Linked DNA regions of Homo sapiens: regions 2, 3, 4, 5 and 6 are each linked to region 1. Evidence: promoter capture Hi-C in human tissues and cell types (Jung and others, 2019). All regions are on one chromosome and are shown on one strand. Each heading gives the region's core, a stretch centred on a gene start or on the middle of the fragment in contact. The rest is flanking DNA. Distances are from core to core; before and after follow the strand shown.

The links. Contacts are between HindIII fragments. The study calls those that stand out against the background at their distance.
Region 2: a fragment that was not itself captured here is called in contact with the fragment with the promoter of SCEL in region 1 in 3 of the 25 tissues and cell types used here (H1 embryonic stem cells, heart right ventricle and lymphoblastoid cells).
Region 3: a fragment that was not itself captured here is called in contact with the fragment with the promoter of SCEL in region 1 in 6 of the 25 tissues and cell types used here (H1 embryonic stem cells, heart right ventricle, lymphoblastoid cells and 3 more).
Region 4: a contact is called between a fragment that was not itself captured here and the fragment with the promoter of SCEL in region 1, in 2 of the 25 tissues and cell types used here (dorsolateral prefrontal cortex and lymphoblastoid cells).
Region 5: a fragment that was not itself captured here is called in contact with the fragment with the promoter of SCEL in region 1 in 2 of the 25 tissues and cell types used here (liver and thymus).
Region 6: a fragment that was not itself captured here is called in contact with the fragment with the promoter of SCEL in region 1 in 3 of the 25 tissues and cell types used here (dorsolateral prefrontal cortex, heart right ventricle and thymus).

Annotation. Positions count from the first base shown.
Region 1 is chr13:77,533,085-77,537,945 of GRCh38, forward strand. SCEL (sciellin) reads left to right here and starts at 2,622. Exons shown (of 33, transcript NM_144777.3): 1 at 2,622-2,740. The HindIII fragment of the contact is 8,761 bases long and covers 1-4,861 here.
Region 2 is chr13:77,298,258-77,303,118 of GRCh38, forward strand. The region is part of intron 1 of MYCBP2 (MYC binding protein 2); the gene reads right to left. Among named protein-coding and RNA genes, the nearest start is that of MYCBP2, 26 kb to the right of the region's middle. The HindIII fragment of the contact is 4,931 bases long and covers 1-4,728 here.
Region 3 is chr13:77,749,075-77,753,935 of GRCh38, forward strand. SLAIN1 (SLAIN motif family member 1) reads left to right here. Exons shown (of 7, transcript NM_001242868.2): 5 at 4,129-4,284. Among named protein-coding and RNA genes, the nearest start is that of MIR3665, 53 kb to the left of the region's middle. The HindIII fragment of the contact is 4,059 bases long and covers 61-4,119 here.
Region 4 is chr13:77,725,918-77,730,778 of GRCh38, forward strand. All of the region lies in intron 2 of SLAIN1 (SLAIN motif family member 1), which reads left to right. Among named protein-coding and RNA genes, the nearest start is that of MIR3665, 30 kb to the left of the region's middle. The HindIII fragment of the contact is 4,515 bases long and covers 149-4,663 here.
Region 5 is chr13:77,358,498-77,363,358 of GRCh38, forward strand. No RefSeq gene overlaps it. Among named protein-coding and RNA genes, the nearest start is that of MYCBP2, 34 kb to the left of the region's middle. The HindIII fragment of the contact is 5,637 bases long and covers 1-4,670 here.
Region 6 is chr13:77,679,387-77,684,247 of GRCh38, forward strand. No RefSeq gene overlaps it. Among named protein-coding and RNA genes, the nearest start is that of SLAIN1, 16 kb to the right of the region's middle. The HindIII fragment of the contact is 4,030 bases long and covers 742-4,771 here.

The sequences.
Region 1 (4,861 bases), core at 1,372-3,871:
GCATTTCAGCTTCTGAGCTTACAGTTCTAGAGAGATCTTAAGAACTCCAACACTGAAAGTGAATAGGTGTGGTGAAGCCAAGTTATTCCAAGCATGCCCAAGTCTTCCCAGTTAAACACCTGAGTGAAACTAATGCTCAGGCTATTTGGCTACCTCCACACCCGAAAACGTTCTTGATTCAACCTCTTCACATTTGAGATTTTAAATTTTAGGCAGTCATGTCTGCTCAGCATGAAGAGGTCTGAATTTTGCTCAATGGTTTAGAATTAGTCCCTTTTTATACTAGAGATTTGATTCTAAATGAAAAAACACTGGTTTGGCTTAGCAGTGTGGATGGTCTGATGTATAAAGTAAGAGAAACCCTTAATTGCATGCAGAAATAATTGCTTGGAAGCTCAAAATCCATAACTTGAGTAGCTGCACTTTACTTCATTATAAGATAAAAACTTATCTTTCTGGTTCTGTGTTTCATGAAGTAATATATTTCAACATTCTGTAATGTAAATTACAACTTATCCCTACAAGGGAGCTCTTAAACTGTTTTCTTTCTTTTTGGCTAAGTTCTAAGGCTGAAGATTGCTTCTAGTTTATCTTTTGAGTTAAGTCACGTCTTTGTTTTTCAGCTTTATCATTTGTAATATTAATATTCAAACCAAGATTTTTGGGCATCACAGAAACTTAAAGCATATTTTAAAAATATTTTGCATGTATAAAATTCCATAAAAAAGCTGAGTAGACACGTATATATGTTTTACTTTGAAAGAACATTTTCCATTTTAGATTTTCAAATTCCTCAGCCCAGAATAAGGGAACATCAGGGAACATACAGGAAGTGGTCTCCCAGTCACAATGACCACATACTGCAATTGCCTTGCTCTTCAGTCTGGGTTTCTGCTTCTTGTTACAGTCATTTCAGTGGGCGTCACTCAGCTGCATTGTAGTTTTCAGGAGCAGTTGTTCAGGGGGGATTTGGTTCATTGCTGGTGTGACATATGAATGACGATCACCCAGGAAGTTCTGATGACGTGGCTTCTCTCAACAATGTTTGCTAAGCTTCTTTAAAGCCTCTTTGGCTCTTAGGGAAGGTGTGTTTCAAAACCTGTAACAGGAGTCCCCGCCTAGAATGGCTCTTCAGTGTTACTCCTTCCTCCCAGCGGAAGCAGCCTTTGTTTTTTGTTGGGTTTTTTTTGTTTTTTTTGTCTGTTTGTTTTGTTTTTTGAGATAGGGTCTCACTCTGTCACCCATACTGGAATGCGGTGGTGTGATCACAGCTCACTGTGGCTTGGTCCTCCCATGCTCAAGAGACTCTCTTTGCCTCAGCCTCCTGAGTAACTGGGACCAAAGACATGCACTACCACACCCAGCTGATTTTTTTATTTTTAGTAGAGATGAGATCTTCTCTTACTGTGTTGCCCAGTTTGTCTCGAACTTCTTGGCTCAAGTGATCCTCCCACCTTGGCCTCCCAAAGTGCAAGTGAAAGCCACTGCAACTGGCCAGAAGCAGCCTTTGATGTTGGGTCTACTGCTGCCCTCAGCATTGAAAGAAGTTTCAACCATCCTTTTCACATTTTTTTTTTTTTTCTGAGACAGTCTCACTCTGTTGCCTAGGCTAGAGTGCAGTGGTGTGATCTTGGCTCACTGTAACCTCCACTTCCCTGGTTCAAGTGATTCTCCTGCCTCCTCCTGCCAGAGTGGATGAATGGTTCTTCTTCTTCTTGACCATCTAATCATTGTCCACTCAGACTTTAAAACTCTGCATCAACATCACCTTCCAGGTTCTTCCTTCTCTCCACTATGCGATGCCTGGCATTGAAAATTTCTGTATATGACTTTATCATGGTGTGTTATAGTTATTTAATATAGCTGGGGTTACAGGTGTGTGCCATCACGCCCAGCTAATTTTTATATTTTTAGTAGAGATCAGGTTTTACCATGTTGGCCAGGCTGATCTTGAACTGCTGACCTCAGGTGATCCGCCTGCTTCCACCGCCCAAAGTCCTGGGATTACAGATGTGAGCCACCACGCCTGGCCCCTTTTCACATTTTTTTATACATGGATAAATAAGATAGAGATTAGAATTCTTACATGCTAGGTGTATTTTCCCTCTGATAGTTTTACAAAATAGTCTAGGTGTAGAATGTGTGGAACAGACTTCTTTTGTGTTTTCTAATCCTAGGGTTCCTGGGTTTCTGAGAATTTGTTTGTCTTGAAGATTCCTTTAAGCCATATACTCCTTGCATGCTTGTCTGTGCCCCTGCCTTCCAGGTACTATGGGTGTATGGGGGTTCCTTCTATCTTGAGTTTTCAATTTTATTTTTTGAAAGAGAATACAAAATAGGTTGGGTCCTATGCCACCTTGTCAGTGATATGGTTGTGCATACTGTTGATATCAGTTAAAAGGGTGATCACAGGAGCATATATATATATATGTTTTTTTTTTTTTTGCATAAGGCCATAAGTTAAACAAAGAATTCAAACAAAGACAGTAGGTATATGAGTGAGAATGCTTTAATTGAACTGGTATTTGTACAAGGTGACACCCTGTTGCATACCACACACCTCCTCCCTGAGTGACTCAGCCGCTGAGCAAGAAACCTCTGAACTGTTCACTAATACAGTCAGGTAGAGGTTGAGACTCCACTGAATAAACTCTAGGTTCCCATTTCTTTCAGCCAGATCCTCCCAGGGAATCACTACAGGCTGGTTAGCCAAAAAGTCCTGATTTTCTGCTCAATAGAGGTAAGTTGAATTATACTTGCAAACAGAAATACATCTGCTGTATGTGCACAGCTTTCTCTGTGTTCCTTACAAATGATTAAAATTAGAACTTACTGTATTATCTTTGTCTTTTCTTCCTGTAAATTTTGACAGCCTCCAGCTGGCTGTTAGCTCTGCTCTTCCTTGCTGTACTTTTAGGTCACATTGCATTGAACTTCTTGGCAATTTTACACGTTATGGGCATCACAGAAACGAGCACCTATTTGATTTTCTGGGTGGGAGCTGTCAGCTGGTGAATCCTGCCACACAAAGGATAATAAATTCTTTAAGTGAAGGGACCAGCACCTGCTGGTTTATTTTCTCAAGCGACTATACAAACATTTTTTAAAGGATCTTTCTGTTTTCATAAATGATGCTTTTAGTGAAATAGTGAACTCAAATATTGCTTTATAGTTAATAAGTCATATTTATTTTTTTCTCTACTGCTAAAAATATTGCAAGTTGCTGAGCTATGAGAGAGAGAGAGGTTTATATTTATGAGGTTTTTGTCTCCACCCTATCTTCCCCAAATAAGAAAATCACCATTTCTCACTTGAAAGTACCAAGGAGTAAAGGCAGGGTGTGGGAGCAGAATAAGGGTACATGGTTCCTCACAGGGATCTGTGGGCATCTGGCCAACTTCTCTATGGTATATTCTGCATTCTAACCTAAGGAGTGATTAATGTATATGGGGGCAATTTTCAAACTTTATTCATAGCCTAGTCCTGAAAAACCAGTTTTGGGAGACTTTTGATAAGGCTAGAAGAGTTCTTTTAACAGAGCTTTCTTTTATAATTAATAGCTAAGCTGACTTGTGTTTTTTCTCATCATTTCTATTTATGATACAGAGCTGTGGGATTCAAATGCAGGGGCCACTCACAGCTTGCAAATTGCAGCTCTGTGTCCTCCAGAGAGGTGCCCCCACAGCATACCTGGCTCTATCTGTAGTACTTGAGTTCTCATGGCTTCCTATTGCTGACAAGGTCACCTGCAGTCTGAGAGGGGGTTAGACACACCAGTGCTCATTTCCCAAAGGTTTACAGAAGAATTTTACAACTTGGCTTTCAAGTGTTTATAGTAACCAGAAAACTAAAGTGTAGCAAGTGTGGATAATTTTATTTTTCATAAAATGTGATTACATTTAAAACTGTCTTTCACTTCCATAGTTTATAACGTAGATAAAGCCTTCCTAATATATGTGGTGCTCCAGTGTTTAAAGTATTGGAAACATCAATTTGAGAAAACTGAGAAATGACAACAGTAAAAATTTTAGTAAAACATTCAGATGATCCTAAATGTCGGGATATGCATAGAATGCCAACAACAGGCCAGAATTTTTATTGGAATGTTAGCGTCGTATAAATCTTAGATCTAATTGACAGAATATTTCAACTGAAACGGAGCATAGGCCCATCTAGTCTAATGCCTGAATTTTCTAGTTGAGAAAATCAAAGCATAAATGTTAAGCAACTTGTGAAGATCAGAGTAGCAGAACCAGAGCACGATGCCAGATTGCTTGTCTTTTGTCTTACTGAATTTTCTCAATATTTTTTCAAATGCTTTTTATCATAAAATATGTAGTAGCAATAAATGAGCCACACTCCATCACAGACTGTGGTTACCCAGCACATGTGGAAATATTATAGTGTGTATGGTATGACTAAGACATAATAGAATACGTTTTCCAACTTGTGGCTTATGGAATCAGTGTTGCCGTTTATTATATTTATGAGATTTTCATCTCAGGAGCCAGTAGCCCCTCAGCAGGGAGGGGATCTGATGTATGTGTGTTAGCTGTGGTCTGTACAATCAGAACACCCTTGCCTCGAATGCCATTCTGTAGGTGATGCTTACCTGACTGCCTTCTCAGACTACCAGAATTATGATGAAATACCTGAGAGGTTCATATTCCTGGGGACTATGTAAACAAAACAAATTTTGAATGACTGAGCTCATACTGTGGAATGAACTGAACACAATTCACGAAGCCGTCAAATTAAGCAAACATTGTTTAACTGAGAGTATCTTATACGGTTCAGGCATCAACTCCCAGCATTTCTTAAGAGTGAGGGGATAAAATCTTTGGCCTTGCAGTCCAAGGGA
Region 2 (4,861 bases), core at 1,013-3,512, 240 kb before region 1:
TGCTAACCACTACTTATCTTCGAGGTCTCAGCATAAGTGTCACTTAAGTCTAACTCCCCACACTGGATGAGTTTCCCTAATATACACTCTCATTCATCGTATATTTATGTTTCATTGTACAGCCAATAACTGTAATTATGTATGGAACTGTTTAATGTATTGCTTCCTCGCCAAGCTAAAAGCTCCAATAGTGCAGGGGCCCTGTCTTTCTTGTTCACTACTCTAGCCTCTGTCCAGAAAAGTTCCTGGGATATAGTACTCAACGAGTATTTTAAGAGAAAGAGAAAGTATAAGAGAAAGAGTGAGGAAGGGGAGAAATGAGGAAGTTGAGAGCTACAGCTACATGCCTTACTCAGAGATTAAAATAAGGTATCTACATCTATGGTATCGACATGAGTGCATTTAAAGCATCTCTAGCCAGAAAGGCCCACTAAGGAGTTATCCTTGGGATTATTTTGCACAGACTTTAGTACAAAGGAGGTCATGGAAACTATGTATGTGGATGAGATTTCCACAAGATAGTATGCCATAAAAGTAAAGAGAAAGAGAAAGATTAACAGTGCCAAATGCTAAACATAAATACATATACCTGCTTATAGAATCTACTCAACTACTAGCATTGTGAGGGCATGATGAATGTCTATTTCAACTGTGTACTTTCAGCACCTGCATCAATGTGAAGCATCAGGGATGGTCAATAAATATCAGATGAACAAATAAATAAATAAAACACAATACGTATTCTTCATACTATTTAGGAAACCAACTTTCCTTTATATTAAAGATTACCTGAGTGAAATCAGGTATTTGAGCAACAGGAATACATAACTACTAAGAGGTTAGCCCCTTCTATATAACTTATAAAAGCATCAAAATTTATTCCAAACCAATTTTCAGAGAAGTAGAATATATAAATCCAAATTCAGATAGATTTCCTAAAGACAAGTTATAACTGACTCAAATTTTCCCAATTAGAGACCAATGTTTGTGTCTGTTTTATCTAATGGAACTTCTTTAAAGTTCAAATGACTTTACGTACATTTCTAAAATACTTCTTTCTATGCATGATGGCATTTAATTGGTTGTAACAATTCTTATGAATCTGAACCCATCAATTCTTAAGTACAGGCCATCCAAGAACTAGCTATTCCCAAATTAATTATAAATTACTTTTACTGTGTTTTTTGTTGTTGTTGTTGATTTGGTTTGCAGAGGAAGAGGTAGAAGTTTTCTAAAAGAGCCAGTAATAAGTTGAAAATTATATAAACAAAATTTGTATTCAACATTGGAAAATTTAAAAATGCCATTTGCTAGTAATATAACACACCATTATATCTCTATATTTGAGAACTAAGCTTAAACCTTTCACAATATCTGAGGATGGGAATATAAAAGAGAAACTCTAAAAACCAGTCTTACACATTAACAATTTAACTTGGAATTTCTGATGATTTAGGGCTTTATATTCTAAATCAATCGAAGCTTAATGAAGAATGTCTGGAATTGGTCCTGTAAGACTTTCAGTCTTCTCACAAAAATAACTTCATATCCATCAGATTTGAAAGAATTGTGGTTGACAATAAAAGGAAAAGGCTATTAACATGCCTTAAATATTTATCTTAAAATATTTACTTTAAAAATTCCAAAAATATTTTCTTAAGAGCTACACTGCTTAAGAAAAATCAAATACTTCTGCAATATAAGAACAAATCAATTTTGCAAATTATTCAGTGATATAGATCAATAGTTTCTCTATCAGCTTATTACTGAGTATACTTTATACCAAAAATGTAGTCATAATTTTAAAACCTCTTTCACTCAAATCTGCTTCATTTGCAAAATAAAGAGATGAAGGAGACTGAGGTTCCTTGTAAATCCTCTAAAATGCTAAGATTTTAATAAATCCAAATTTACAGAACTTCTGGAATAAAATGGTTTCAATCTTTTGCTTAATTTCTCTTAGTAATAAGAAATAAAAAATTCCTGAGCCTGTGATGTAAAGCAGGAATAGGGAAATTTTTTCTGCAAAGGGCCACACAGCAAATATTTTACACTTTGTGAGTCACAAGATCTCTGTTGCAACTACTCAATGGTTACAGCACGAAAGCAGCCATCGGCAGCACATAAAGAGAGGAGTGTGCATATATTACAATAAAACTTCCAAATTTCACATAATGCTCACAAAACATTCTCTTCCTTTTTTATTTTCTTTTCAACCTTTTAAAAATGTAAAAACCACTTTTAGTTCACAGGCTACATAAAAACAAGAATTGGGCCTCATTGGTCTGTGGGTCTTTGTTTGCTCGCCCCAGATCTGGGGCATATTTTGATAAACAGGCCCATATCAGAAAGGAAAAAAATGCTTTATAGCTATGAGTATGCAACACAGATAAAACTATTCAAAACATCACTATGCTTATAAAAATAAGCACTCCTAAAATTATCTGCCTTTTCTTTTTATAAAGATAAACTTCTGACTTCCACTTCCCTAAAGTAAGTGATTAGATAGGAGGCAGGCCAATGCGCCTGCTTCAAAGACCAGACTAACCAACGTAAGAAAGCTGTGGAAGCAATGAGGACTAAAAGAACAAAAAATCCAGAGGTGGAAGAGCACTTCCAAGGCAGCTGAGACCACTGGCTTGTTCTTCCATGGGGGTAACTGCAGAGCTTGGGCATGAGTAAGGACTGAGCTTGGCTTAAGCAGAGGAACTCTAATAAAGGAAACAAGAGACTAGTAGTGCTTTAGATGCCCATGTGGGCTGAAATGACAGACTGGAATCTAGAAAAGCTCTAGATACATAGACAGCTTTCCCAGTGGTATATCTCCTCAGAAATGTAACTGGAACACTGAAGGATGATAGAGAGGCTGGGTCAAGGCTGGGCGCGGTGGCTCACACCTGTAATACCAGCACTTTGGGAAGCTGAGGCGGGCAGATTACTTGAGGTCAGGAGTTCGAGACCAGCTTGGCCAACATGGTGAAACCCCGTCTCTACTAAAAATGCAAAAAATTAGCTGGGTATGGTGGTGCACGCCTGCAATCCCAGCAACTAGGGAGGCGGAGGCAGGAGAATCGCTTGAACCTGGAAGGCAGAGGTTGTGACGAGCCAAGAGCCAAGATCGCGCCACTGCACTCCAGCCTGGGCTACAGAGCAAGACTCCATCTCAAAAAAAAAAAAAAAAAAAAAAAAAAAGAGGCTGGGTCAAAAGGGAAGAGAAAACTTCCGTAAGAAGACAGAATCCTAGTAGAGGGAGGGAGCGGTCTATGTAATCCCTCACTGGATTGAGATAATCAAACTCCTCATTCTATCTGTCTGACACAGCAAAGAGCACACCTCTCTAGGAGAAAACACATGATCTGAAAGAAAATCATGTTCATTCATACACAGTGTTAGTCTAGTTCGGGGACACTAAGTAAACACATTAAGGGACATCAAAAGAAGCAAAATATGTGGCAGACACATAATCAAGAGAAAACCAGAAAATTAGTCAGACTCACAGAAAACCCAGATATTAACGTTAGGAGGCAAGTACCTGAGATGCAGAGATTAACAATATGTGTAAAATAATGCAATTGGCAATTTTCAACATAATTTATAAAAAAAGAACCAAGTGGACATTCTGAAACTGAAAAATAAACATCTGAAATTAAGAACTTCTCATATGATTTTAAAAGCAGAGTAAGTTACAGAAAAACAGGTTTCACAGACTTGCAAACAGGCCAAAAATAAATAAATAAATAAATAACAGAATTCAATCACGGAAACAAAAATGGGATGAACCAAACAGAGAACGAGACATGTGGGACAAAGTCAGATGGTCTCATATTCATATAATTGGAATCCCAGAAAGAGAGAAAAAAGAATGGAACAAAAGCAATATATGACAAGATAATTACTGACAATTTCCCAAAAGTGAAGAAAGAAATCAACTGAGAGATTCAAGAAACTCAGGGAACTTTAAGCAGGAAAATCCAAAGAAAAGCATACCTAGGCACAGCATGGTCATATTGCTAAAAGCAAAGCATAAAGAGAAAATCTTTAAAGCAGCCAGAGAAGAGATATGCTTAAAGGAACAATAAAATTGATAGTTTCCATTCTTTGTGTTGAAAAGGGCTGGGGGGTGGGGAGGGGGAGGTGGTAGAGTGGAGGGATGGGGGTTAGAGGTGGGGGAAAGTAACCTGGAATCATGTAACCTTTAAGAATGTATCTTTTAAGAATGAAGACAAAAATAAAGATGTTTTTAGATCCATGAAAGCTGATATAATTCACATAAAGGATTCTAAAAGTATCCTGTAAGAATGAAGACAAAAATAAAGATGTTTTTAGATCCATGAAAGCTGACATAATTCACTGTCAAGAGACCAATATTACAAGAAATACTGAAGGAAAGTCTTCCTTTAATAACTGTAATATCATAATTTTAAATGAAAGGATACATGCTAAAAGGACAGAAAAAGATGTATCTCAAGCACACTCTCCAGTGTCCCAAAAAAAGTTGGAGTGGCTATTTTAATATTTGACAAAGTAATTTTTAAGGCAACAGTATTAAAAGAAATGAAAAGAGCATTTCTAAATGGCAAAAGGGTCAAATCATTAGGAAATCATAACACTCCTAAATTTGAATGCATCCAGTAACACAGCTTCAAAATATATAAAGTAAAATTGACAGAAGTTAAATGGGAAAATACAAATCCACAATTGAAAGAGTAAGTTCTAACATACCTCTCTGTAACTGATAGAACAAGTAGAGACCAAAACAGCACTGACATAGAAAAACTTGAAAACATGATTAATCGGCCAGGCGCGGTGGCTCATGCCTGTAATCCCAGCACTTTGGGAGGCCAAGGCAGGTGGATCATGA
Region 3 (4,861 bases), core at 840-3,339, 220 kb after region 1:
AGCAAAAAACTGAAATAAGAATGGTAACTTTGAAGCTAATCTATTAAATATTTTTCTAAATTATCAAAATAATATAGATAGAAAATAATTGTAAACTGTTGATTCATTTTAAAATAATTGAGAATAAACTAGAAATGTATATTAATATTTACTGCTTTTGTAGTTCCTACACTGCCTAGATTTAAAGAGATGGTTCATAAAACTTTCTGGGATATTTCTGAGATTCATAGAATTAAAAGAAGCATAACTGGAATAACTTGCTAAATATCAAAATGACTCAACTTGTAGAATCTTTACCAACTTTTTTATAATTCTACGGTATGGCAGGGGTTACTGGAGGCATGATGTAGTCCTTATTATCATGAGGACCTCCCCTGGAGCCTGTGTTGCCTGGATGCCTAGATCTAGCTGTTTGGTGGACAATGAGTGTCTCCTTTAGTCCTAAAGATTCCTGAGTCTTTGTTCATAGAGTGATGAGTCTTGCTGCCTCTTTAATGTGAGCAAGCTCATTTGAATTCTTTACTTGGTCTATTCTTCCAGTTTCCTGCTGCATCTCAGCCCTTGAAGATTAAACTGCTGATTTCTTGTGAAGATAGAACTAGAACATTACTTTTGGTTCCCTGAACTTTAAAGAATATGTGGTTATTAAAACGTTCCACATTGTTTGACAGGAAATGTACCTCATTTCCAGATGGTCTGACACAAGTTGGAGATCACAGCTTTGTTCCAAGGGGAATAGTGTCCTAAATATTTACACTTGGAAGACCTTATTTTTAAGAGCATATTTCAGGATTAAAGCTTTGTGAAACTGACTTGTTGCTTAAATATGAGTAAAGATTGGTTTTAAAGACTAACACAGATTAGAGGCATAGCCAAATGTAACGTATGGACCTTGATTGGATCGTGGTTTAGAGGAAAAAGCTTGTGAAAGATATTCTTGGGATGTCTGAAAAATTTTGTATGCAGATTATCATATGATATTGTTAATTTGTTTACATGTGATTACAATATTGTGATTCCATAGAATTTTCTCAGGAGATCAATATGCATTTAAAGTGTCAAGATGTCTGAAGTTTTATCTTGTTTAGCAAAGCAAACAAAAGTACATGTGGAGATGAATTAAATATGGCAAAATGGAAACAACCAGTATAGCCAGGTGGAAAAACAGGTGTTTATGATACTATTTTTTAACATTTCTATATGTATGAAAACTATTATAGTAAATAGTTGGAGAGAGATTTTAAAAAGAAATATAGAAGCTCAATTAATTTTCTCAATAGCATATAATTATGTTCCTGTGCCTCCCTGCTGCTTAAAAATATATGTATTGGAAATATGTATAGTGAAAATAGTCTAGTACTGATAGAGGCTGTCTTTTTTACACCAGTTTTTGTAATAGTCAAAAGATCTAGATATGGCCACTAAGATTATGTAGAGATGAATCCTTCTAATTCCTCCCTTCTTACTACACACTGTCTGCCAAATCATACACATAATATTTGCTGATATATAAAGTACCTGCTCTGTGAGGCTGGGAACTTTAATAGGAATTTGGGAATACGAGACGTATGATTGTTAAAAATAGGCATCAAGAAGATAATGAGGAAAATTGCCAAGGAATCTAACAGTCAGTGGCAATATTTGAGCATCCTTACTCTAGAACTACACACAGAAAGTAATGTGTGAGAGGTAGATACTTCCAGCTGGGAAGTCCATAGAAAAGCTTCTCTATGGTGGGGATAATTGTGCCAATTCTTAAAGTATTAGTAAGACCCACATGAGTAAAATATTCTTTTGTGCTTTCTACCATAGCACTCTCTACAATTTTTTATGCTCTCTTATTATACATATTATCTAAGTATACTTATTGTGCTTGTTTAATCTTCTGCCTTTTCCACCCCAAGGGAGCAAAAATTGCTGGACATGGCAACATTTAATAGGTGTTAGTAATGTCAAAGGAGTAGTGTATGAAAGGGGAATAAGAAGAGCTGAGTTTGATTTTGACTTGAATGCCTTTTGGATTAGCATTCAAGTATATCATTATTTTCTGGTTTTGCTTGAAAGAAAATGACCACAAGATTGAATGCTCTGATATGTGCACTTTAGTGTTTTGCGGTATATATCAATAAAGATAAAAATATCTTGTAAGTTGGAGGGGTGAAAAAAATTTTAGATATTACAATGATTTATGATCTTCCATGGTTTACCCCTATCAAAATGTTAATCTTTAATATTTATTTTATTTGGGAAAAAATTTAATTTTAAGTTTAATTAAATTTATTTTAGATTTTCTCTTTAGGATCAACAATGGGTGGGGAAGGATTGAGAAGCACTGGTCTAGACTATAAACCTAGACCATAAATCTTGACTATAAACTCAATGAGACTCTGGACTGTATCTGCCTAATACACTGTGGTATCCCCAACAGCTCACAGAGTGTCTGGTATTTAGTGTAAACACAATAGATGTTTGTTCCCTTGTTCATTTGTTCCTTCTCCAAAGTGAGGTTGGGTGTCCACATGGAGGGACCAGCCTGCTCACAGGTATGAGAGAGTTCACCCCTGTGGTCGGGGAGCAGGCTGAGAGGCCAGGCTGGAGAAGTATAAAGAGCCTGGGCCTTGAAGCCCTCATCTGGGCTGTGCTCAGGAGCTTGGCCTTTCAGAAGAGGGAGCAGGGGAGGAATTGAGGAGTTGGAGGGATTTCAGCAAGTGGGTGACGCATGCTGTGCTCTAGGAAGAGTGGAATCGAGTACTTGAATTAGTTTTGTCCTTGAATTAGTTATGGCTTAGTACTCGTATATATGCTTTTTTTTTCAGTTTAAATGACCTGACATAGGTACTTTAGTTTTTGGGGGATGTGTATTGATCAAGGAAAAAGTGTCTCATAGAGTTGTGGTCTTGTGGCTGGCTTATTTCACATGTGTTATTTCACACATCTCAACATTGAGATCTGTATGTGACTCTCTGCTGCCTCTTGGTGGCAGAAGATGAACTTAGCAAGGCAAAAAAATTGAAGCATTCTCTTGGTCTTTTTTATCTGCAAACATTTGGTGGCGTACTCATGAAAGTTAAAACTTTCCAGAGATTAATGTGGTCATGTTAATGTGATGAGTGGATATTTCAAGACATCTGAAGTTTGAATTTTATTAATTTGTTCCATTTTGATATGGTAGCAAAAGATTCAGTAAATGTTGGTTTTGATTCTTCTAGGGTTCTTTTTTTTTTTTTTTTTTAAGAAGCATGTAACTTAATTTCTAGGGTTGTTTTGGTAAATTTAATGGCTATAAGATTATTTTCTAACTTTTTAAATATAGTTTTAGCCACTTATTGAATAGGAACAGATAGCTAACTGCTTAGCTAGTCCCTAAGTCTTTTTATAGAAGTTTCGTTCTCCTTTAACACATTGTATTAGTTAGGGTTCTCTAGAGGGACAGAACTAACAGGATAAATGTATATATGAAGGGGCATTGATTAAGGAGTATTGACTCACACGATCACAAGGTGAGGTCCCATGATAGGCTGTCTGCAAGCTGAGGAGCAAGGAAGACAGTCGGAGTCCCAAATCCTCAAAAGTAGGGAAGCCGCCAGTGCAGCCTTCAGTCTGTGGCCAAAGGCCTGAGAGATCCTGGCAAACCACTGATGTAAGTCCAAGAGTCCACAAGCTGAAGAACTTGGAGTCTGATGCTCGAGGGTAGGAAGCATCCAGCACAGGAGAAAGGTGAAGTCTGCTCCTTCTGCATTCTTCTGCGCTTTTATCCTAGCCATGCTGGCAGCTGATTAGATGGTGCCTATCCAGATGGAGGGTGGGTCTACCCCTCCCAGTCCACTGACTCAAATGTTAATCTCCTTTGGCAACACCCTCACAGACACACCCAGGAGCAATGCTTTACATCCTTCAATCCAATCAAGTTGGCACTCAATATTAACCATCACACATGCTTATTTGGTGGGAACCCTTCTGGTTGGGAAGGGTGTTTTCCTGTACAATAGGTTAGAAAGCTTGATCATCAACATGTAATAATTTGTATTTATTATTGAGCACAATATGACTTTTGTTATTTGCTTTTGAAAGCTAGTACTTTGGTTGCATAACATCTGTCATTTTTAACTTAGTAAAATTCTTTTCCAGATAAGCTCCGAAGAAGTATGCCTAACCTAGCCCGGATGCCAAGTACAACTGCCATTAGTAGCAACATTAGTTCTCCGGTCACCGTGCGAAATAGTCAGAGTTTTGACTCAAGCTTGCATGGAGCTGGAAATGGAATTTCAAGAATACAATCTTGTAGTGAGTATAATTATTTGATATAATTATATATTGTATAATTGTATAATTTTTTATAATTTTTAATTGTAAGGAAAATGTCTGTTTTATTTCTTTGTATTTACTTGAAAGAACACTAAACTTTTTTCCTTGCCGTGTAACTTATTTTTTTATTTCACCATTAGAGTTGAATAGTATTTTTACTATTCAAATAGTATATTTACTATTCAACTTACCAGTGCCTGTGGTATAAATTACTTACCAGTGCCTGTGGTATCAATTAATAATAGTAAATTGTTATTTGTATAATAATAGTAAATTATTTGTAGTCCTTTATATCCTAGGATAGTAGAAGTACTACATGGTGATTGATTTATCCACTCATCATACAAAAATTGTTTTCCTTGCAGATCCTCCTCCTTCTAGCTGTCTACCTGAATAAGCACACTTAATTCTGTTTAGCCGTTCCTTTTGTCTTGTTTTTCACCTATGCATACTTTTGTCTTTTTCCCCCTAAATGAAGTTATATTTTAGAGTGTCTAAAGTAGTTTTTGTCCACTCTATTTAGCTTACCCCACATTCTGTTACTTACTTTCTATGT
Region 4 (4,861 bases), core at 1,156-3,655, 190 kb after region 1:
GCACAATTGCTAATGAGCTTATTTGTACTGTAACTTCTTGCAGGGCCCAGGCCTATTTCTCTTCTTGCTGCCTACATTTGTGATTTCATAGATTCCTCAAAAAGCTTTCATGATGTATCTGACAACTTTTGACCCTGGACCTAGATAACAAAACTTGCTAAGTTATGAGAGAATGTATGGGACACAGTTAAGCTTTGTCTTGAGATTGTGAGAACAAGCTTATTAGAATTCTGCCCTTCTGCAGAAAGTTTTTTTTTCTGAAGAAAATGAAGGAAAGGGATTTTTATAAGATTTAATTTTGTAGGGAGACAGCACCTGCATTATCACTGTTTTTAAAATATTGCTAAAAAATACGTTGTCTTCACAACCACAATTTTGCAAATGGTTAAATATTTTTTAAAAGATATAATAAGATAGTTATTTTTAGTGCATATAGTATATTCCTACAGATGACTAATATGTATCTAATACCCCTAATTCTTATAGGGAATATTAATTGACTTGGATCTAAGAAACTTTTTTTTTTAAAGACAGGGTCTTACTCTATTGCCTAGGCTGGAGTGCAGTGACGCAACCACGGCTCACTGCAGCCTTGACCTCCCTGGGCTCAGGTGACCCTCCCACCTTAGCTTCCCAAGTAGCTGGGACTGCAGATGTATGCCACCATACCTGGCAAATTTTTTGCAGGGTCAGGATTTTGCCATGTTGCCCAGGCTGATATTGAACTCCTGGGCTCAAGCAATCTGCCCACCTGGCCTCCCTGTGCTGGGATTATAGGCATGAGCCACTGTGCTTGGCCCTAAGAAACTTTTTATTATAAATTGCAAAACTTACTATCCTCTTTTCCAAGCTGATCTTTTAATATTCAGATTTTACAATTTATAAAGTCTTGTGTATCATGTAGTCAGCACAGTCAAGTTACTTAAGTTTTCTCAGCCTCTTTTACATTTGTATTTATTTTGTAGTGTTGTTATAAGGAAATAGATATTTGTAAATTAGATGAGATAATGGCTCAAATATTAGGTGTCTCCCCCTTATATGTGAATAGTGTAAATGGCTTTTTTGGATAATTTACAGAAAGTAATGTTAAAAGTGAAATAACATTGCTGGAAATTAAAATCTCCTGGCATCTCTAAATCTGCAGTCTGTTGGTATAAAGTTAACTAATAAAGCCTAGAATAGAATAATCTTTCTCTTTTTTCCCCCAGAACACTGGCCACTTATTTGAGTATGCAGTCTTCAACAAAGCTCAGTATCTTGGTTGGTTTTCCTCTTTTGAAGATGGTCCTAACGATGTTTGCTTTCTATTTCGAGGCACCCTGTTTTGTGAACTTCTTTTTATTTAGTTGTTAATGTATGTGACTTTTTCCAAATAGATTAAGCATCTGAAGATGGAGGTCTATACCTAAAATTGTTTTTTGAATTGCCAGTGCTTAATAAATTTTTCAGCATGTTTTAAGTACTGAATTTTTTTTGTGTGATTGACTAATTTGAGTATGTTTAAATTTTTTAAGTTGGGCAAAAAAAAAAACAAAACAATTTTCATTGAACATTTGGTGTTGTAAATGGCATCCTACTAGCCAAGCCAAAAAAAAAAAACAAAAACCCTCAAAAAACCAAAACAGAGTGGTGTTCATTAAAGTGTTAGTTCTGAGCGTGGGGGTTTCAGTCTGTTTTGTTCATTGCTGTGACCCTTTCTGTGCCTGGAATAACTCCCATCGCACTGTAGGTGTTGTATGCTAGTTGTTGAAGGAGTGAATATGGTGGAAGTTTTCACCTTAATAGTTATGCCTCATCCCTGCTCCACTGTGATTGAGATGGTTGTCCTTATTTCTAGGGCCTTGCCTAGTAAGTGGGGACATTTAGCAGATTTCACAGGGCTATTTTAGAAAGATTTCTGGAAATATTGGATGTGAAATTACTTCAGAAATGTGGAGTACTACATATACAGAAACATTCCTAATGTACAGATTTTCATTTAGAAATTGAACATAAAATACAGGGAATCCTCTTTGCCTGGCTACTTATACTTCATAGAAAACTAAGTGTGTTTTTGGCAGAGGGTGGGTATCTGTTTTCTCTACCTACAAATACAGGTATTTGTTAGGGATCTTACACTGAAAAATTTTGTAAGTGTAGTTTATTATTCAACATAGAAAATCTACAACAATCTCTTTAGTTGGTTGTTTTTATTTTATTTTTTATTAGATCTGTGTGTATTCCATTTCTAACTCGCCCATCTTTCTAACCCCCCTCTACCCCTTTAGAATAAAAATAACAAAACTGCATAGAACTTTCATGGGTAGGATTAGCTCACTTGATATCCTAAATTGAAATAAGGCTAATCTAGGGTCTTTGGTAAATTCACGCATGAGGCTGGGATGTTAAATAACCAAATAATGATCAAAGGCTTATCTAAGTAATTTGAAACGCCCAAAATGTGGCTCAGTTAATTTGGGGCCAGTTAATAAAAGCTTATCTTGGCTTAAGGTACTTGAATGTCTATAACTATTGAATCAGGACAGGTCACATTTGAGCAGAGTAGGTGTACTTTTCACAAATAGTGGAGGCCTACACAATTATATCCTTGGCTCATGTTTCGCTATGACCATCTGTCATTTCCTCTGGGATTAGATACTAAGGAAATGTGAATAGAAATTACCCCATTCATTGAGTTTTTCTTTTATCTTCATATGGTACCAGTTCCCAATCTTATTTTAGTTGTTATAAAGGAGTGTTAATGTCCAAATTTAGCTGATGAAGAAGAAAGTTGTAGACTAATCCACAGTTCTGCGAGTGACCCTTTCTTTTGTTAAAATCCACACAGATTGAACTGAGACATTAAGCTTATCAAATGTCTGTCTTCTGGAACCTGTCCAGTCTCTCCTTGCTTGGCCCAAGATGTTATCTCCACTAGCTCATATTTCTAGTCTCGAGATGCTCTGTCAAACTTGGAACACAAAATTAAAACTTAGTCTGTGAGGTTCATTTTGGGTAAGCTTTGTAAAGAATTTCTTTTCTCACTGGAAAAACAATCTGGAATCATATTGGAATTTTTGTGCAGAGACAGGGTCTCCTGATACATGCTATCATTCCTGTGTGCTGAAAATGGAAAATGCATTGTCATAGCTGTGGGATTTCATCACATCTTTATGTTGCTTTGCTCTTATGTTCAGAATAGCCCCAGTGCATTTACTTCAGTATTGGCAATGATTTAGTACAGTAACAGATAATAAGGGATTGTGCTTCTATGAAATTTGCAGTTTCAGTCCATTATACCCTACAACCTGATATGTGTTTGCCAAATTTCCTTAAGTAATCCTTTTTTCTTTTGCTAATTTGTACTTGTGTTTCCATGTGTTTTTTTTTCCTTTGGTTTCACTTTGCATTTCTACCATGATTCGAAAAGTGTTTTTCAAAATAAACAATAATGGTTGTTCTGGTGAATTTATTATTGACATGCTATTTTGTTACCTATCTCCACCAAGGAAAAAATAAAACAATAGAGATTCTCCCAAAGTAGTTGTCTACTGCTTTCATACTACTGTGACGGTTGATTAAATTTGACTCTATCATAGTGAAATTCTTTTTTTTTTTTTGGTAGGTGTTGGTACCTGTTTCTTGGGACCTCTACAGAATAGTCAGGTTTAAAGCAAGACTTTCTAGACTCTCTTTTCTGAAACACTGGGGCTTGATCAGATGATTACAATACATGAAATGTGTTGAGTACTTATTAGGTACAGTCAGTGCTAAATACAGGGTGCAGTGGCAAGCAAGATGAGCTCAGTGCCTGGCCTTGGGAACATGCATTCTGATGCAAAAAACAGATGACAAGATAGCAGTTCTTTGTTCTTCCTGTCCCATAAAAGAAGCATAATGATGCGAATGGCAGCCTGACCCAGGGGTATGATCAGAAAATGATTTCCCAAAGACGTGAGGCATCAGCTGGGACCGGAGAGTCAGTGGGAGTTAAGCCAGTAACTCTGTGTGTGTGTGTGTGTGTCCGTGTGTCCATCTGTTCGTCCATCCAACGGGAGGAGGAGGTGAGGAAGAGTGTCCCAGGCCTTTTCTGTCACTAGGATAAGCCATAACTCAAAGAAGAGTCTTTCAGTCTCAGAGACATTGGAGAGGAAGGATAGCAATAGCATGTGGAAAGGCCCTGCAGTGGGACATAATGTGAGGAAACGGCAGGCTGTTGTGGTTGGGGTGTAATGGAGGGAAATGACTCTAAATGAAACTAGAAACTAGACATGTGTGCAGCGTCTTCAGGGCAGTTAAAGATTCTGGATTTTATCTTAAAATGGTTGAAAAACCTTTGAATAATTTTTAGTAAAGGAGTGATGTAACTGAACAGCTAAGCTACAGGATATTACCTGAATTGTCTTAGAAGGCAGAGCCTTTTTTGGAAATCTGGTGAACTGTGGAGAGTGAAATGGTGGTTTTAGAAATTCTTTGGAACATGGGTAAGGTTAGGCTTTAGCAATTTTTAAGGGAGAGTCTTAGATAAACTTGGGAATGTTTTCTTCTTTTTCATTAATATCCCAAATTTCTTATGTGACTAATGTGAGAAATGGTAGATGAAAATGTGGCCAAGTTCTCGTGACACTTAATTTACTTCGGAAACATAAGGGTTTGATTTGTTGATGTTCTCAATTATTTATAATATTTGGGAGCTTTAAACTTCTATATAGTAATAAGTTTAATATATTTGAGTTTTGGAGCTCTTGTCAATTTGTGAGTTTAATTTTTTTCTACTGTCATAGTTGTAAGGTTGTATTTCAAGAAACAGTGTATTTAAATTTACTAGGCTTTTGAAATGCAGATTTGCTGTCATCGGGTGTGTCCTGTACTTGTGTATATG
Region 5 (4,861 bases), core at 602-3,101, 180 kb before region 1:
TATTTTTATTTTTTGGGGACAGAATCTCACTCTGTTGCCCAGGCTGGAGTGCAGTGGCTCAATGTCAGCTCACTGCAACTTCCACCTCCTGGGTTCAAGCGATTCTCCTGCCTCAGCCACCTGGGTGGCTGGGATTACAGGCACGAGCCACCACGTCTGGCTAATTTGTATATTTTAGTAGAGACAGGGTTTCACCATATTGGCCAGGCTGGTCTTGAACTCCTGGCCTCAAGTGATCCTCCTGCCTCAGCCTCCCAAAGTGCTGGGATTATAGGTGTGAGCCACCTCGCCTGGCAGTTACACCTTATTTTGCAGTTATTTTTGTATTTGGCTAATTCTACTCACCATCCTTCCAACACTGTAACTCTCAGAGGGCAGAGATGTGTCTCACTTATTACTCTATTCCTGCAGAGAGTTCATGTGAATATTTGTTTTAGGAAATTGAGTTAAATCATCCTGTTTTTAGTTTGAGTTATTTGAAAATAACTAATAACTCCATATTGATTTTAAAAAACTAACTCTATAATGATGTGGAAATATAGATCCATGTTTTACAGTCCTTAGATTTCTTCTAATGTCTGGTTTAAATTCTCTCTGCTGTAATTTCTATCTGCCACATGGGACTGAGGATAATTGTTTTGTATCATTTGTACACAAACCTTTTTAATACTCAAAAACAAGACTTAATCCTTCTTAAACCTTCTTTATTTCAGTTCATATAAATTCACTTCCTTTACTCACTCCTTACTACCAAATTTTAAATTATATCTGTCCTTTTATGATGAACCTCCTCCAGGTTCCTATGCAAAACTTTATGAACGTTCTGACTAATGCATAGTTGTTTGCACAGTGGTAAGTCATTTGCATACTTGTGGAATCCAGAGATCAACAGAATCATGAAAACAAGAGCAAACTTTGGACGTGAAAGAAATCATTAAAGGCCAAATCATTTCCCACGTCACCCCTCTAGGTAGAAAATTGGGTAATAGAGGGTTTGTTTAATATGATGCCTTTTTGTTAGTCATCTTGTGAACCTAATAGAGGAACTATTTCTGTTCTTCTAGTGTATTGAGATAAGTAGCAAGAAAGTGCCAATTCAAATTTTGTGAAATAAATGAAATTTTCTACCAGATTATGTTTTGAAGGACAGATTCAGTCAACAAGCTCTGTTTAACATATATGAAGATAATGAAATTGATTCACTGAACCATGCAGTTAGAATGTGGTTTTAATACCGTCAGTGATCCAAATATATGTTTACCCTGGGATTATAGCATGAACACTCAAAATCTCTGTGCCCTAATCAGTGGTGTGTGACCAAACTACAGCAAAACCATTGATTTAAACTATACTTTAAAAGTTTGGTGTGATACCAAACTACAGCAAAACCATTGATTTAAACTATAGTTTAGAAGTTTGGTGTGATACCAAACTACAGCAAAACCATTGATTTGGCCACTAAAATAGACAAAAAGGTATCCATGGCCTCATTAGTTCCAAGCTCTAATAAACTACCCAGAAATAACTGACAAAAGGCAAAATCTTCCATATGACCTTCCAATATTTTCTCTCTGGCATGGCAAAAGAGAATACAAACTTCTTTTGAGCCTGTTGATTTGGGGATTTGACTTTATTGTGAAGCAGCAACCCTATTTTTTGTTAGTGCCAGTCATTCTAGCTAAGTTTACCCAGGGGACGTGAAGAGCCCCGAATCACTGGTGGTAATTGAGTCAAACTGTATTAGTAACCACAATGTGAGCCTGCAGTGAACAGAAAATTCCACTCACAGTGGCTTACTTATGTAGAGATTGAGGTGTCTCACACAAAAAGGTATCCACAGTAGGTGAGGAATTGGTGTAACAGCTCAGCATTTTCCTTTGTATTTGTCTACTATTCTTACATTATTTTTATTCCCATGCTCATGTTTGCCTTATTGTCACTTGATGGTGGCTACACTGTAAGCCCTGTAGTCACATACCATTCGTGATGAAGAAACAGGAAGAAGGAAGAAGAAGCACCAGAAGTCATCTGCATTTTCTTCTCCTTTTCCTTTTCTTCTTCATACATACACAAAAGCAGGAATATTGATATTGTAAATCCCCAGATTCAACTACTATCAGCATTTTGCCAATCTAGTTTCATCAGTTCCCTTCTGGCTTTAACAAGTATATAATAAAGCAAATCCCAGACGTCATATCATTTCATCCATAAATATTTTAGAATGGATCTCTAACATTTTAAGATAACAATAATATCACTATATCACATAAAATCAACAATAATTTCTTTCTTTCTTCTTTCTTTCTTTCTTTCTTTCTTTCTTTCTTTCTTTCTTTCTATCTCTCTCTTTTTTTTTTTTTTGAGACTTGCTTTGTCACTAGACTGGAGTGCAGTGGCACCATCTTGGCTTAGGCTCACTGCAACCTCCGCCTCTTGGGTTCAGGTGATTCCTCTGCCTCAGCCTCCCAAGTAGCTGGGACTACAGGCACATGCCACCACGCCTGGCTAATTTTTTTTTTTTTGTGGATTTTAGTAGAGATGGGGTTTCACCATGTTGGCCAGGATGGTCTCGATATCCTGACCTCGTGATCCGCCTGCCTCAGCCTCCCAAAGTGCTAGGATTACGGGCGTGGGCCACCATGCCAGGCCTAAAGTCAACAATAATTTCTTAATGTCACCTTGTACCTAGAACATAATCAAATCCTCCTAATTTTCTCAAGTGTTTGGATCAGGAGCCAAACAATGTTGGTTGCTAAGTCTCTTGTAATTTATTGTGATATAGATCCCTCTTATTTTTATGTCATTTACTTGTTCAAAATTTTTTTTTTAAAAGAATTTCCCACATCCTGGAAGTGGCTTTATGTTTTATTTTACACATTCCTGTAGGGACTTGGCTAAATATGTGAATAAATACAGTCTCATTTTTGGGGTGAAAAGTATTTCAGAGATGGTGATGATCCTATTGTCTTACATCAGGAGGCTCATACTGGCCGATGGTCTCATTTTTCCAATGCCAGGACTGATCAGTGAGTTCATGTGTGATCAGCCTGATCCATCCACTGTAAATCCCCCACCCATATTTCATCTAACAGTTTTGACACTTATTCTTTTATTTTATTTTCTCTTCTTCTCCTTCTCCTTCTCCTTCTTCTGAGACAGGGTCTCACTCCATCACTCAGGCTGGAGTACAGTGGCAGGATAATAGCTCACTGCAACCTTGAACTCAGGGGCTCAAGCAATTCTCCTATCTCAGCCTCCCGAGTAGATGGGACTACAGGCCCACGCCACCATGCGTGGCTAATTTAAAAACATGTTTTTTTTATTTGTTTGTTTGTTTTTTGATAGAGATGGGGGTCTATGTTGTCCAGGCTGATCTCGAACTCCTGGACTCGAATGATCCTCCTGCCTCAGGCTCCCAAAAGTCTGGAATTACATGCATAAGCCACTGTGTCTGGCCAATTTTGGCACTTATTAATAATCAAGTCTTAGGTCTCTTTTGCCATTTTGGAATTGAAATGTGATGATTTTCTAATTCTTTCATTCTTTCTGTATTTATTAACAGAAACTCTTCTATGAAGAGAGCTCTTTATCAATCATTTGTTTACCAGAAAAATAAAATACATACAAGAAAGACAGAATAAATGTTTTATGTGTCCCTTTATCTATTTTTTATGGTAATAAGTTATGTCCTAGCCACTTCTACTGATAAGCCATGGGATGATTTTCTTCTAGCATTATCATTGACGATTTCATTTGTATATATATGTTGTGTTTTTAGTAATTTGAGTCATTCTTTTTGATCCCAAATGATGTAATCTTTGGACAATGAGAGACCATTCAAGTTGGCTCCTGTGACCTTCTGGCATCCCATTAGCCTTTGACAGATTCCTTGCCTCCTGATACAAGGAAGGACATTCATTTTTTACATTTCTTTACTCAGCTCTACTATTGGTCATTGTTCCAAGGTGCCCTTGTTCATTTTAGTGGGTACTAGGGTGCTCATTGCTACTGGGCTTGTCATTGTTCCTGGGTCTTTTCAGTGGATAGAATTAGGAATGTGTACTTTTTTTTTCCAAGAAAAAATACATCATGAATTCTAACATACAGTTGTCTTGATAAATTTCCATCTGTCCTTTTGAAAAAGGCTAATAGATTTGAGATGTGTACTTTTCATGTTGTACTAATTAGAATTAACTTTGCTTCATAGAAGAGATATACTTGTAATATTCGCCCAAACAAGATCAAAGCTTTTATTGCCCATATAAATGCAATCTCATGATGCACTGTTCAAGAGCTCATTCGGCAGCTCTGTGTTATCATCAGTGACCCAGGCTCCCATCTTTCTTGCCATCTTAACATCTCAGCTTCAGTTAGCATGGGCCACCATTCAATCTATGCATTAGTCAACCAATTAAACCAAAAACCAGAAGACTCCAAGCTGTCTAAGTTTTCACAAGGAATCCAGAATAACTGGTAAGCACACCCATATCCACAAATTCAGCTTGACTAAGTTTGAGTCCTTTTTTCCTTGGCATCACATACTCAAAACCTGTTTACATCTATATTCTCCAGATTTTTGCCAACCATATTGATGTGTACTCTGTATCTTTTCAGGTATGACTTTTAAATTGCTCCTCTGAGGAATCCTGGGATCTGACTCTAGGTATAGGTCTAGAGATAATGTGACAATAATGTGAGGGCATGAGGAAGAATTGCATTTCTCTTTCAGGGTAACTCCTTTATACAGGAATGCTATAAGGTCTTACAGCAAGGCAGGAACCATGTCATCAGACAGGAGAGGTAGGGGGGCTTCAACTGACAATTAGGAGGTTTAATGGAGGCTTTCAGGTTTGGTGCTGTC
Region 6 (4,861 bases), core at 1,507-4,006, 150 kb after region 1:
AGACCTGTCTCATTCCTGTTTATCTGACCTTGGTGGCAGCGTCACTCTCTGCTCCTGTTCCTGGGACTTTGGTGCAGCAGTGGTTGCTCTGCTCCTTGCCCAGGCATTTCTCCAGCAGCATAGTGACTGCCTCTGGATCCCCCCAGCAGGGCTAGTGCCTGCAACCACTACTGGGGGACCTGAGTGCAGGCTTGCCAAGATCAGCTCCATCCAGTATCAAACTCCCCACCATGGCTGAGCACAGGACCCAGAACACTGAGTGTTCCATGCCCAGCCCATTGCCTGGGACACCCAAGTACTTCTGGTTAACAAAAATCAAGCATAAACCATATCGCTACCACTTCAGCTGCTCTTACCTGCAAATACCCACTACCTACTGGCTTGGAGGTTGACCTGCACAGCCCATCACAGCATGTGCTGACACAAATGCACAGCACTTGAGAAGGAGATAAGCTTCTTGTGACCGCTGCTATCACCATTGCCCATGCCACCCTGGCTACTCAAGAGTCGATGAGGCTGCTCACCTGTCCAGTACTCCACTACTACAACCAACATTTGATAAACCACCACACTGATATGGCTATTTATAATCAAGGAAATAATACAGGATCTTCACCATTGAATACACCCAGAAGCAATGCCAAATGGCTCTACTCAACATATATCATAATCACATCCTCAAGGAAAAAAGGTCCCACCCCAATGAAAGTAATTTCAAAAATAAGCAACTGTTTAGATGAAAATAAATAATCATATTAAGAAGTAAGGTATTATGACAACACAGTAATTCTCCAGAAATAAATCCTAACCAAAAAGAAATCCTAAAAAATGCCAGATAAAGAATTCAAAATAGTGATTTTAAAGAAGCTCAGTGAGATGCAAGAGAAATCTGAAAACCATTACAAAGAAATCAGAAAATCAATTCAAAATATGAACAAGAAATTTACCAAAGGGATAGATATCTTAAAAAACAAACAAAACTCCTGGAAAAGAAAAATTCGTTGAAGTAATTACAAAATACTTCTAAAAGCTTCGACAGTAGACTAGACCAGGCAGGAGAAAGAGACACAGAACTTGAAGACAGGTCTTTTGAATTAATCCAGTCAAAGAAAAATAAATAAAACAGTATTTAAAAGAATAAAAAAAAAACCTTCAAAAAGTATGGGACTACATAAAGTGACAAAACTTACAATCCTTTGGTATTCCTGAGGGATTAAAAAAAAGCAAAAAGTTTAGAAAAACTACTTAAGGAAACAATTGATGAAAACTTCCCTAGTCTAGCATGAGATTTAAACATCCAGGTATAGGATGCCCAAAGATCACAAGCAAAACACATCGCAGAATAGACTTTGCCAGGACATATAGGAATCAGACTGTCTAAGTCAATATGAAGAAAAAAATCCTAAAATTGCGAGTGTCTAGTTACCTACAAAGGAAACCCATCAAACTACAGCAGATTTCTCATTAGAAACCTTCCATACCAGAAGAGAATGGTATGCTGTTTTCAAAGTGCTAAAAGAAAAAAGAAAAAAAAACAAAAACAAAACTATCAGTCATGAATTTTATATCCAGCTAAAAGAAGCTTCATAAATGAAGGGGAAATAAGGTCATTCCCAGATAAGCAAACACTGAGAGAATTCATAACCACTAGAGTGGACCTACAGGAAATGCTAAAGGAGTCCAATATATTGAAACAAAAAGGTGATATTTGCCATTATAAAAATACACGAAAGTAAACACTCTCAGGTCTTATACAACAATTACAAATCACAGGAGGAAGATAGGGGAATCAAATGGCACTATGACAGAACTCCACCAAACCACTGAGCAAACAGAGAAAAAAAAATAGAATTTACCAGATAACTAGATAACAATGAACAATATGACAGGAATAAAACCTTATCTATCAATATTAACATTGAATGCAAATGGATTAAGTGCTCCACTTAAAAGATATATATTGGCAGAATGAATTTAAAAACATGATCTAACTATATACCACTTACAAGAAACTCATCTTATTGGTTAAAAATATAGATACATTGAAAGTAGAGGGGTGGAAAAATATATTCAACACATATGGAAACCAAAACTGAGCAGGAGTAGCTATACTTATACAGATAAAACAGATTTCAATTCAAAACAGTAAAAAACAAACAAACAAAAAAGAAAGGCATTATAAAATTATAAAGGATATATTCAATAAGAGAATAAAATAATCCTAAATATGTATGCTTCAAACACCATAGCACCCAGATTCATAAAACAAATATTACTAGACCTAAAGAATAAGGTGCAATAATAGTGGGGGACTTCAATACCTTACTGACAGCACTAGACAGATCATTGAGACAGAAAATCAACAAAGAAACACTCTACTTAAATTAGACTTTTGACCAAATTGACCTAATAGATATATACAGAACGTTTTCCCCAACAATTGTAGAATATACATTCTTCTCATTGGCACATGGAACATTCTCAAAGACAGACCATATATTAAGCCACAAAAGTCTCCATAAATTGAAAAAAATTAAAATCATATCAAGTATCTTCCCAAACGACAGCAGAATAAAACTAGAAATCAATACCAAGAGGAACTCTGGAAACTATACGAATACATGAAAATTAAACAACATACTCCTGAAGGAACTTTGGGTCCATGATGAAATTAAGACAGAAATTTAAAAATTTTTGAAATGAATGACACACAACATATCAATACCTCTAGGATACAGCAAGAGCAGTACTAAGATACAAGTTTATAGTGTCAAATGTCTACATAAAAATAGAAAGATTACAAATTAACAACCTAATGTTGAACTTCAAGGAATTATAAAACCAAAAACAAACCAAACCTAAAGCTAGCTGAAGAAAAGAAATAACAAAGAACAGAGCAGAATTAAATGACATTGAGACAAAAAAATACAAATATAAAAAAATACAAAAGTTGGTTCTTTGAAAAGATAAACAAAATTGATATACCACTAGCTAGACTAACCAAGAAGAGAGAAGATCCAGATTAACATAATCAGAAATGAAAAAAGAGACATTACAACGAATACCCCAGAAATACAAAATATTATCAGTGACTACTATGCACAACTATATGCTCATAACCCAGCAAATCTAGAGAAAATGGATAAATTCCTGGAAACATACAACCTCCCAAGACTGAACCAGGAAGAAATACAAATTCTATACAGATCAATAATGAGTAGTGAGATTGAATTAGTAATAAAAAAATCTTCCAACAAAAAAGAAGCCCAGAACCAGATAGATTCACAACCAAATTCTATTAAGCAAATAAAGAAGAAATGGTACCAATCCTGCTGAAATTTTCCCCAAAAATTACATAAGAAGGGAATTTTCCCTAACTCATTCTTTTTTTTTTTTTTTTTTTTTTTTTTTACTAATAACAGGATGGTTTATTATACAGGATACAGTGTTCAACATACTTTCCTTATAATTCTTACCTTGACTTGCTAGTTAACGAATATATAGTTTTAATTTTTTCATTGGTAAAATGGGAAGGCAATACTTATTATTAATACATTGAATGAAAGCATTTGTATCCAATACTCAATAAATTATAACAAGAATTATATCACTATTTTCAATATCAGGAAGATGAGTTTTAGAAAGCTTATATAAGGACTATGAGTTTTCAGTAGAACTGCAGAGATTTTATCCTTATGGAAGATTAAGGTATGTGTCTCCTGTGTGTCCTAAGCACAAGATTAAATAAATTGTATTTCTTCATCACAGATCCATTAAAACTAATGCTTTAGAAGTACATTTGTTACCATGGAAAGATGTTTCTTTTTTTATTATTATTATTATACTTTAAGTTTTAGGGTACATGTGCACAATGTGCAGGTTAGTTACATATGTATACATGTGCCATGCTGGTGCACTGCACCCACTAACTCATCATCTAGCATTAGGTATATCTCCCAATGCTATCCCTCCCCCCTACCCCCACCCCACAACAGTCCCCAGAGTGTGATGTTCCCCTTCCTGTGTCCATGTGTTCTCATTGTTCAATTCCCATCTATGAGTGAGAATATGCGGTGTTTGGTTTTTTGTTCTTGCGATAGTTTACTGAGAATGATGATTTCCAATTTCATCCAAGTCCTTACAAAGGACATGAACTCATCATTTTTTATGGCTGCATAGTATTCCATGGTGTATATGTGCCACATTTTCTTAATCCAGTCTATCATTGTTGGACATTTGGGTTGGTTCCAAGTCTTTGCTATTGTGAATAATGCCGCAATAAACATACGTGTGCATGTGTCTTTATAGCAGCATGATTTATAGTCCTTTGGGTATATACCCAGTAATGGGATGGCTGGGTCAAATGGTACTTCCAGTTCTAGATCCCTGAGGAATCGCAACACTGACTTCCACAATGGTTGAACTAGTTTACAGTCCCACCAACAGTGTAAAAGTGTTCCTATTTCTCCACATCCTCTCCAGGACCTGTTGTTTCCTGACTTTTTAATGATTGCCATTCTAACTGGTGTGAGATGGTATCTCATTGTGGTTTTGATTTGCATTTCTCTGATGGCCAGTGATGATGAGCATTTTTTCATGTGTTTTTTGGCTGCATAAATGTCTTCTTTTGAGAAGTGTCTGTTCATGTCCTTCGCCCACCTTTTGATGGGGTTGTTTGTTTTTTCTTGTAAATTGGTTTGAGTTCATTGTAGATTCTGGATATTAGCCCTTTGTCAGATGAGTAGGTTGCGAAAATTTTCTCCCATTTTGTAGGTTGCCTGTTCACTCTGATGGTAGTTTCTTTTGCTGTGTAGAAGCTCTTAAATTTAATTAGATCCCATTTGTCAATTTTGGCTTTTGT